Linked DNA regions of Homo sapiens: region 1 is linked to region 2. The links are contacts of gene promoters, found by promoter capture Hi-C in human tissues and cell types (Jung and others, 2019). All regions are on one chromosome and are shown on one strand. The core of a region is centred on a gene start or on the middle of the fragment in contact, and the rest is flanking DNA. Distances in the headings are between cores, read along the strand shown.

What was found. Contacts are between HindIII fragments. The study calls those that stand out against the background at their distance.
Region 1: a contact is called between the fragment with the promoter of DMRT2 here and the fragment with the promoter of DMRT1 in region 2, in 1 of the 25 tissues and cell types used here (neural progenitor cells).

What each region holds. Positions count from the first base shown.
Region 1 is chr9:1,049,107-1,051,606 of GRCh38, forward strand. It overlaps DMRT2 (doublesex and mab-3 related transcription factor 2), which reads left to right and starts at 1,251. Exons shown (of 4, transcript NM_181872.6): 1 at 1,251-1,669; 2 at 2,464-2,500. RefSeq lists an enhancer at 1,023-1,892. The HindIII fragment of the contact is 14,990 bases long and covers 1-2,500 here.
Region 2 is chr9:836,597-842,946 of GRCh38, forward strand. It overlaps DMRT1 (doublesex and mab-3 related transcription factor 1), which reads left to right and starts at 5,101. Exons shown (of 5, transcript NM_021951.3): 1 at 5,101-5,596. The coding sequence starts at 5,243. The HindIII fragment of the contact is 5,420 bases long and covers 2,218-6,350 here.

The sequences.
Region 1 (2,500 bases), core at 1-2,500, 210 kb after region 2:
TGCCTGGTCACCGGGGAGGAACTTTACAACATCACTGAAGGTTTGAGAATAGTGCTTCTGGCTGGTCGCGGTAGTTCCTAAGCTGCCTTTGTTCCCACTTCTCTGATCCAGGTTAACTTTTAACATTCTGACAAACTCGGACAAAAGTAACGTTGGGATTACGTCAGGAATTCCCACCCTTCAACAAATATTTGTTGCGGGCCTACTATGTACTCAGTGCAATGATACCCAATTTTGTAGTCTCCTAAACAGATCCTACTCGAGAGGTCTTGATTATTTACAGATGCAGTTAGAAAAGCGCCCATATTATTTTTAATTGAGTTCAAGAAATAGAATGCAGCGTTGAATTAGAAGACTAATTCCTTCTTTTAATATGTTGAAAATTTTTTATCGTTAAACATTTTGTAAAGGATTTTTTGAGGGAGTCGTTAGAAAGTCTATAAATACAACTACGCACACTAAAAAGTAGTCATCTTTTTAAAAATAACTTTGTTTAAATGCATGCTTAGTGTGAATGGATTTACCTAATTCTCTTAATAGCATGCATTTCTGATCTTCCCTACATTAACTGTAATAGCAACTGATATAACAGAAAAATGTAAGTGACTTGTAGTCGACTTGGCCACCTGCCACACGGGCTCGGTGAAGGTTAATGAGGAGCTATTTGGCACTTCGAGAATAGGTGGCACTAGACACAGAAATATCAACAGGCTATTTGTATGCTAACTAGGAGTTTCGGTGCCAGGTAACCATTGATGTACTCTTGCAGGAGAAAGAAGGATGTCGCTGTACGCCCCGAAAGAGAGGCATCATTTTTACGCCCAGTTTGGATTAATGATTGATTGAGTCGCAGAAATGCTTGTGATGCTGATAGAGGCCAATACTGGTCTTTCTGATCTCTTCCTCGTCGTTTATTACCTTCTCTTGTGGACAACGCATTCCTAAGAATGTATCTCTGCTTGTTTCCCAGTCCGCGAGATAAATGGTGACTTCTCTCTTGCAGGCACCGTCATACCTCGGGTTTAGATTCTGGACAGGCGAGCCGGCTGCACCGAAGGCCCGGTAGGCGGACTCTGGCGGAGCGCTTCAGAGAGAAGAGTGTAGACCGCGGGAGGCGGAGGGCTCCCTGCCAGCGTGCCTCGGCCAATCAGTATTCACACCGCCTGACAACCGGCCAATCAGAGGACGTAAAGCTCCGGGGCCTGAGCGGACAGTACTAGGAAGGGGAGCGCAGTCTGCAGACTGAAGCCAGTGGCGCTGCGCTGAATGCAACTGCGCGCGCCCGCCGGGTGAGCCAGCGATCTGAGCCAGGCGGGGGCGGCCCGACCTTTCCCGCCCAGCCTGGGTCAGAGGAAGCCGAAAGCGGCCTCAGCAAGGTGAGGCGCCCGAGGCTGCAGAAGACCGAGCAGAACTTTGCAGAGTTCGGGATGTGCTGGGCTAGGTCGCTGAGGACTTGACTGGCTTCCTCCCTCCTTCCCTCCACCTACCTTCTCCCTCCCCCTCCACCATCCAGTGGGTTCGTTCCGGGCCTCCAGCTATCAGCTCCCGATCTCGTGTTTGAGGGTAGCGACCCCGATTTCTGTTTGCATGCACAGCCAGCAGCCCTAGCGCCAGATCCTAAAGCTGGATATCTTTTAACTGGGCTACCAGCCCGGGCCTCAAAGTTTTGGTGAGTGCTGTGATGCCGCTCGGGGTGTCAGGGAGGGCAAAGGGCGTGAATCATCTTTCACCTTTTCTGTGTGACTTGGATGCCTTACCTTAAATATATAAACCAAGGCCTAAGTACAGAGAGCCCACGCGGCTCAGCCCTGTGCACCTCAGGTACTATTAAGGCTGGACGGGCGTCTGTATTGTGCTCTTTGCCCTTATGGGACGCTAATGACAACAAAATTTTGGTTTTCAGTTGAGTATTTTGGGGAGGGGGGTGAGAGGACCTCTTCAAGCCCAAGGAGGGGTCCTTGTGGTGGTGTAGGCTGATGAGAGGCATTTGGGAAGCATAGAGTGGTACTTCAGTGAGTCTGAAGGGCCACTTGTAATCAAAGGAAAACTGTTCTTCCACGGATAGTTTTATATGCATCATGGCCATACTAGTTGAGTATGGGGAAATCCGACAAGTGGCCTGGGGCTGCCTATTTGGACACAATATTTTGTGTGTGTGTGATAAGTGAGTTACCCAGGGACTTGTCCGGAAAGCCCGTGTAAAGCCAGAGAGGGCCACGGTTAAAGGTCAGGTACTCACAGAGCACTTAGAATTAATAAAATAAAACCTTTGTTGGGTTGTGGATCCCTGGGGGCCCTGGAGATACAGGAAAGGCACGTGTGGCCTGGAAGTGAGGGACATGTAATGAGAACAGGATGACTCAAGCGGCCGGAGGCGGGCAGACCAGGAGCTTTGGGCCGGAGGCTCAGGGATGGTCCCTGACGGCGGCCGGTGGGTCTTTGGATTTCTTTGTGTTTCCCCAGAGTGAGGGCCGCCAGGCTCAGGCCCCAGCGAAGCCCC
Region 2 (6,350 bases), core at 3,851-6,350:
AGTGTGAAGCAATAGCTTATTATGTTTTTTATTTGTATTTCTCTAATGAGTAAATACACTGAACATCTTTTGGCTATTTGAATATTTTCTTCGGTAAAATGTCTGTTCAAATCTTGTTTTGTTTTTTTGACAGGGTTTCGCTCTGTCTCCCAGGCTGGAGTGCAGTGGTGCCATCTCAGCTCACTGCAGCCTCCCAGGCTCAAGTGATCCTTCCACCTCAGCCTCCTGAGTAGCTGGGACTACAGGTGCACACTACTACACTTGGCTAATTTTTAAATTATCTACAGAGATGGGGTCTCCCTATATTGCCCAGGCTGGTCTGGAACTCCTGGGTTCAAGATATCCTCCTGCCTCAGCCTCTCAAAGTGCTGAGATTGCAGGTGTAAGCCACCATGCCTGGCCATATTAAACCCATTTTTCAATTGGGTTGTCTTTTCATTATTAAATTGTAAGAGTTGTTTATATATTCTGGATACAAATCAGATATATGATGATCAGATATATGATTTTCAAATATTTTCTCACAAAATGTTTTGGCTTGTATTTTCATTTTCTTTTCTTTTTTTCTTCTTTTTTTTTTTTTTCTTTTCTTTGAGATGGAGTCTTGCCTTGTTGCCTAGGCTATAGTGTGGTGGCGCCATCTTGGCTCACTGCAACCTCCATCTCCGGGGTTCCAGCGATTCTCCTGCCTCAGCCTCCCGAGTAGCTGGGATTACAGGCACCCGCTACCACGCCTGGCTAATTTTTGTATTTTTAGTAGAGACAGAGTTTCGCCAAGTTGGCCAGGCTGGTCTTGAACTCCTGATGTCAGGCGATCTGCCCACCTCAGCCTCCCAAAGTGCTGGGATTATGGGCATAAGCCACCGGGTCAGGCTGTATTTTCATTTTCTTAATGGTATCTTTTGAAGACACAAAAGCTTTGAATTTTGGTGAAGTCCAGTTTGCCAGTTTTTTTCCTTTCATCACTTTTGCTTTTTTTTTTTTTTGAGATGGAGTCTTGCTCTGTGGCCCAGGCTAGAGGGCAGTGGTGTGATCTTGCCTCACTGCAACCTCTGCTTCCCCAGTTCAAGCAATTTTCCTGCCTCAGCCTTCTCAGTAGCTGGGATTACAGGCGCAGGCTGCCACGCCTGGCTAATTTTTTGTATTTTAGTAGAGATGGGGTTTCACCGTGTTGCCCAGGCTGGTCTCGATCTCCTGAGCTCAGGCGATCTACCCGTCTCAGTCTCCCAGAGTGCTAGGATTATAGGCATGAGCCACTGCGCCCGGCCCACTTTTGCTTTTGGTGTTATGCCTAAGAAGTCTTTGCCCAACCCTGACATGTTTTAGAACTGCCCCTCCCCCCACTTACCAATATGTCTTGGACATATTTCTATTTCAGTAAATACAGATCTGCATCACCATCTTTATGGCTTCCATGTCTGGAAAAAGGAGAGGAGAGAAAGGAGACAACAAAGCCAGGCTACTTGAAATATCCAGTACAAATTTGTTCATTCTTGGGGCCTTCCTGTCTCTATTTTTTTTTTCTTGAGGCAGAGTCTCACTGTGTCACCCAGGCTAGAGTGCAGTGGTACCATCTCGGTTCACTGCAACCTCTGCCTCCAGGGTTCAAACGATTCTCTAGCCTCAGCCTCCCAAGTAGCTGGAATTACAGGCACCCACCACCCTGCCCAGCTAATTTTTGTATTTTAGTAGAGACAGGGTTTCATCATGTTGGCCAGGCTGGTCTCAAACTCCTGACCTCAAGTGATCTGCCTGCCTCGGCCTCCCAAAGTGCTGGGATTACAGGCATGAGCCACTGCGCCCAGACTTTTTTTTTTTCTTGAGAAGGAGTCTCCCTCTCTTGCCCAGATTAGAGTGCAATGGCGCAATCTCAGCTCACTGCAAGCTCTGCCTCCCAGGTTTTAAGAGATTCTCCTACTTCAGCCTCCCGAGTAGCTGAGATTACAGGCACGCGCCACCAAGCCCGGCTAATTTTTGTATTTTTAGTAGAGACAGGGTTTCACCATGTTGGTCAGGCTGGTCTTGAACCCCTGACCTCATGATGCACCTGCCTCCACCTCCCAAAGTGCTGGGATTACAGGTGTGAGCCACCGCGCCTGGCCACTTTTTTTTTTTTTTTGGAGGTGGAGTTTTGCTTTTTTTTTGCCCAGGCTGGAGTGCAATGGCACGATGTTGACTCACTGCAACCTCCGCCTCCCGGGTTCAAGTGATTATCCTGCCTCAGCCTCCCGAGTAGCTGGGATTACAGGTGTGTGCCACCATGCCTGGCTAATTTTGCATTTTTAGTAGAGAAGGGGTTTCACCCTGTTGACCAGGCTGGTCTCGAACTCCTGACCTCAGGTGGTCTGCCCGCCTCGGCCTCCCAAAGTGCTGAGATTATAGGCGTGAGCCACTGTGCAGGGCCCGTCTCTATTTTTGGTGGTCTCCTGTCTGGTACCTCTTCTGTGGTTTGTGAATAAATTTACTAGGCTATTAACTTCATCACAACATTTTATGTTATAATACCTTGGTCACAGAGATTCCTAGCCCCGAATTTTCTGTGGGCTTAAATTCCTCCTTCACAGATTCCAGTAATAGGATGCTTATAAAGAACCTATATTCCCCTGTAATTTGGGATTTGACAGCTGTTTCCTCCTGCATCTACTTCACTCTCTAGAACTGGACAGGACCTTGGGAATGATTCAGCTCCAGTTTATATATTAAAATACAAATATGGGTCAGGCACGGTGGCTCACACCTATAAATCTCAGTGCTGTGGGAGGTGGAAGGAGGAGAATCACTTGAGGCCAGGAGTTTGAGACCAGCCTGAGTAACATAGTAAGCCCCTGTCTCCACAAAATTTTTAAAAATTGGGGCCAGGCTTGGTGGCTCACGCCTGTAGTCCCAGGACTTTGGGAGGCCGAGGCGGGTGGATCACGAGGTCAGGAGATCGAGACCATCCCGGCTAACATGTTGAAACCCGGTCTCTACTAAAAGTACAAACAATTAGCCGGGCATGGTGGCAGGCGCCTGTAGTCTCAGCTACTTGGGAGGCTGAGGCAGGAGAATGGCGTGAACCCGGTAGGCGGAGCTTGCAGTGAGCTGAGATCGCGCCACTGCACTCCAGCCTGGGTGACAGTGCGAGACTCCATTTCAAAAAAAAAAAAAAATTTGGCGTGGTAGCACATGCTTCTAGTCCCAGCTACTTGGAAGGCTGAGGCAGGAGGATCCCTTTAGCCCAGAAACTGGAGGCTACAGTGAGCTATGACTGTGCCACTGCACTCTAGCCCAGGCAACAGAGCAAGACTCTATCTCTAAAAATTAAATAAATAAAATATAAATCTGGAAAAAGAACATAAATATTGGATAACAGCAATTGACATGCGTGTTTTAATGGAAGATTGTTTTAATGGAAGATTTAAGTGGTTATCATTTATAAGTTTCCAGGATGGAATAGATTGTTGCATCCTAGCTCCTGTCAGGAGTAGAGCTTCACTGGTTTCACAGGTAGGGTATGAGGTGCTGTGTAAAGCTAGAAGCTTCTTTTGGAAGTAATTTTCAGACAGAGAATACTAATGGAGAAATTTCAGACTGAGGGAAAGGGCCTGTGAGAGAGGCCTCAGAATTAGAGCTCCAAAGGCAGATTCGAGGATTTCAGAACTCAGTGCTGAAAACACCAAACTGCTGAAAGAGGTGGCCACAGTACAACCATTTTGATGAGAAGTTGAACAGGGTGACCATGCCTCTTTGGAGAAATAATCCCCTAGGTCTGGAGGCGGCCCAGGATCCTGAAGGTGAGTACCAGTGCTGGTGGAAAATAAGGAGCATTCAAAGTGCATTAAGAGCCACTCCGGGGTCTTTAACTTGTTAACATGGAAAACAATAGCAAAGTACTGCTGGGGCCCCCTGCTGTGTGTATAGAATATACCGGAAGACTAAGACATGGAGATAGCAGCTGGGAGCTACCGCAGAGATTCAGACTTGAGGTGAAGGGCTGGCCTTAGGGGGGCACGTGGGTGTGTAGGAAGAACTGCTCAGCAGGCCTTAGGGATACATTTGTTGTGCAGGTGCAGAGAGGACACAGGCATGGCTGGGGCGGGAGTTCAGGATGAGAACCCTGGGACAGGCTGTAAGATGATCGAGCCAGGGGTGTGTGTGTGTGTGTGTGTGTGTGTGTGTGTGTGTGTGTGTGTAGAGGTATAATGACATACTGTAAAATGCAAGATATGAAGTGTAGAATGAGTTTTGATACATTTCTACATCTGTGTAACCACCCCCCACAACCTCAGTTTTTTTTAATACATATGTTTCTTTTTAAGTTTGAGTTTCCCGTGCCTGCAGAGTCTAAGTTTAAACAGCCTCACAGACAAGAAGCTATATGCACCTGAAGTGAACGGGAACACGGGCTGCAACAGTAGATCGTAAAGTTATTTGGAGCGAAGGAGGTAGAAGTGTTGTGAGCAAATGAAGACAGGTGCAGGAAGGGATAAACGGAGAACAGAAAGTTCCAACCTTTGAGATTTTTGAAGTGCTTGTGCCCCAACACTGAGGATCTTCTTTGCCGTATATAGGGCAACTCTGATTTACCCTATAAATTTCTCAGGCCTTCCACCTCATATTTAATTCTCTTAAGCGAGAAAAAAAATTTTTTTCTGACTTGGCTGCTGCCAAGGTCGGCTCTATCAAATCTGGTGCGTCTCTCTGGGGGAAAGGGAGCTAGAAGACCCCATAGGGTGGTTTGCACCTCCTCTAAGCATGCAAGCACGGCTCTGGTCTTGACCTGGGGAGCCCAGCTTCCTCGGTGCACCGTGCTTTGGCAACCGGGTCTTGGCGCCTCCGAGAGCGGGGCGAGGGGTGCCACGCGATTCCCAGGCCGCTCTGTATCTCTCGGTGCGCTTGCAGGGACCCTGCAGCAAAGCCCTGGATGCTTGCAGCCGGTGCAAGTTTGCAAGCAGCTGGAGAGCGGTGGCTGGAGTCGGGGGGCGGTGGGCGTGGCCACGCTCCCTCCCAGGCAGTCCCGGGAATGTTCTGAAAAGTATCCGAAAGTTCTGAGTCGCGCGCGCGCCAAAAGAAAAGGCACAACCCCCCACCACTCCGGGCGTGGCGTGCCCAGACCTCGCCACTCCAGCTGCGCCTCCGGCTGCAGCGCACACGTCTCCTGCGCCTCCTCCTCCGGAGCGTCGCTGTCCGTCGGGTTCATCCCTCGCAGCAGTCTCCAGGCGAGAGAGGGGGCCAGAGTGCTCGCACTTCTCCTAGGGGCACCATGCCCAACGACGAGGCATTCAGCAAGCCCTCTACACCGTCGGAAGCCCCTCACGCCCCCGGGGTACCGCCGCAGGGCAGAGCCGGGGGCTTTGGCAAAGCGTCTGGGGCGCTAGTGGGGGCGGCCAGCGGCTCGAGCGCCGGGGGCAGCAGCAGAGGAGGCGGCTCCGGCTCCGGGGCGTCGGACCTGGGTGCCGGGAGCAAGAAGTCCCCGCGGCTGCCCAAGTGCGCACGCTGCAGGAACCACGGCTACGCCTCGCCGCTCAAGGGCCACAAGCGCTTCTGCATGTGGCGCGACTGCCAGTGCAAGAAGTGCAACCTGATCGCCGAGAGGCAGCGCGTGATGGCCGCGCAGGTGGGTGCGGGCGTGCGGGAGCCCGGGTTCAGCCTTAGTTTTTTTTTTTTTTTTTTTTTTTAGATGGAGTCTCGCTCGGTTGCCCAGGCTGCAGTGTAGTGGCGCGATCTTGGCTCACTGCAACCTCCGCTTCCCGGGTTCAAGCAATTCTCCTGCCTCAGCCTCCCAAGTAGCTGGGACTACAGGCGCACACCACCATGCCCGGCTAATTTTTGTATTTTTAGTAGAGACGGGGGTTTCACCATATTGGTCAGGCCGGTCTCGAGCTCCTGACCTCAGGTGATCCACCCGCCTCGGCCTCCCAAAGTGCTGGGATTACAGGCGTGGGCCACCGCTCCCGGCGGGGCCCGAGTTTCTTGAATGAAGTCCCCCCAGCATGGCCGTTGCCATGCGGGTCCTGGGTTGTGGAGAGATGCGGCGGTACTTGCCGACAGCGGCGGCGCTTGGGGTCCTGGGCTCCCGGCCACGCTACATCGCCGGTCTGGGAGCGCCGGAGACGCGTCTGATCCCGCCCGCCGGGCAGAGTTGCGGGCTTCGCTCGGCTCGGGGTTCCCCACGATCTCTCACCCTGTGTTTCGGCGGAGTTGCGGGGGTTCCCTCTGCTCCCGGGTCCCTGAGATCCCTGATCCCGCTCTCAGGGCAGGGAATTCCGGGGTTCGCCCCTCTGGGCTTCCCCGCGATCCCAGAGCCCGCGTTCCAACAGAATTGGGAGGGTTTATTGCGCTAGAGGAGTCTTCAGGATCTTCGCTCCCGC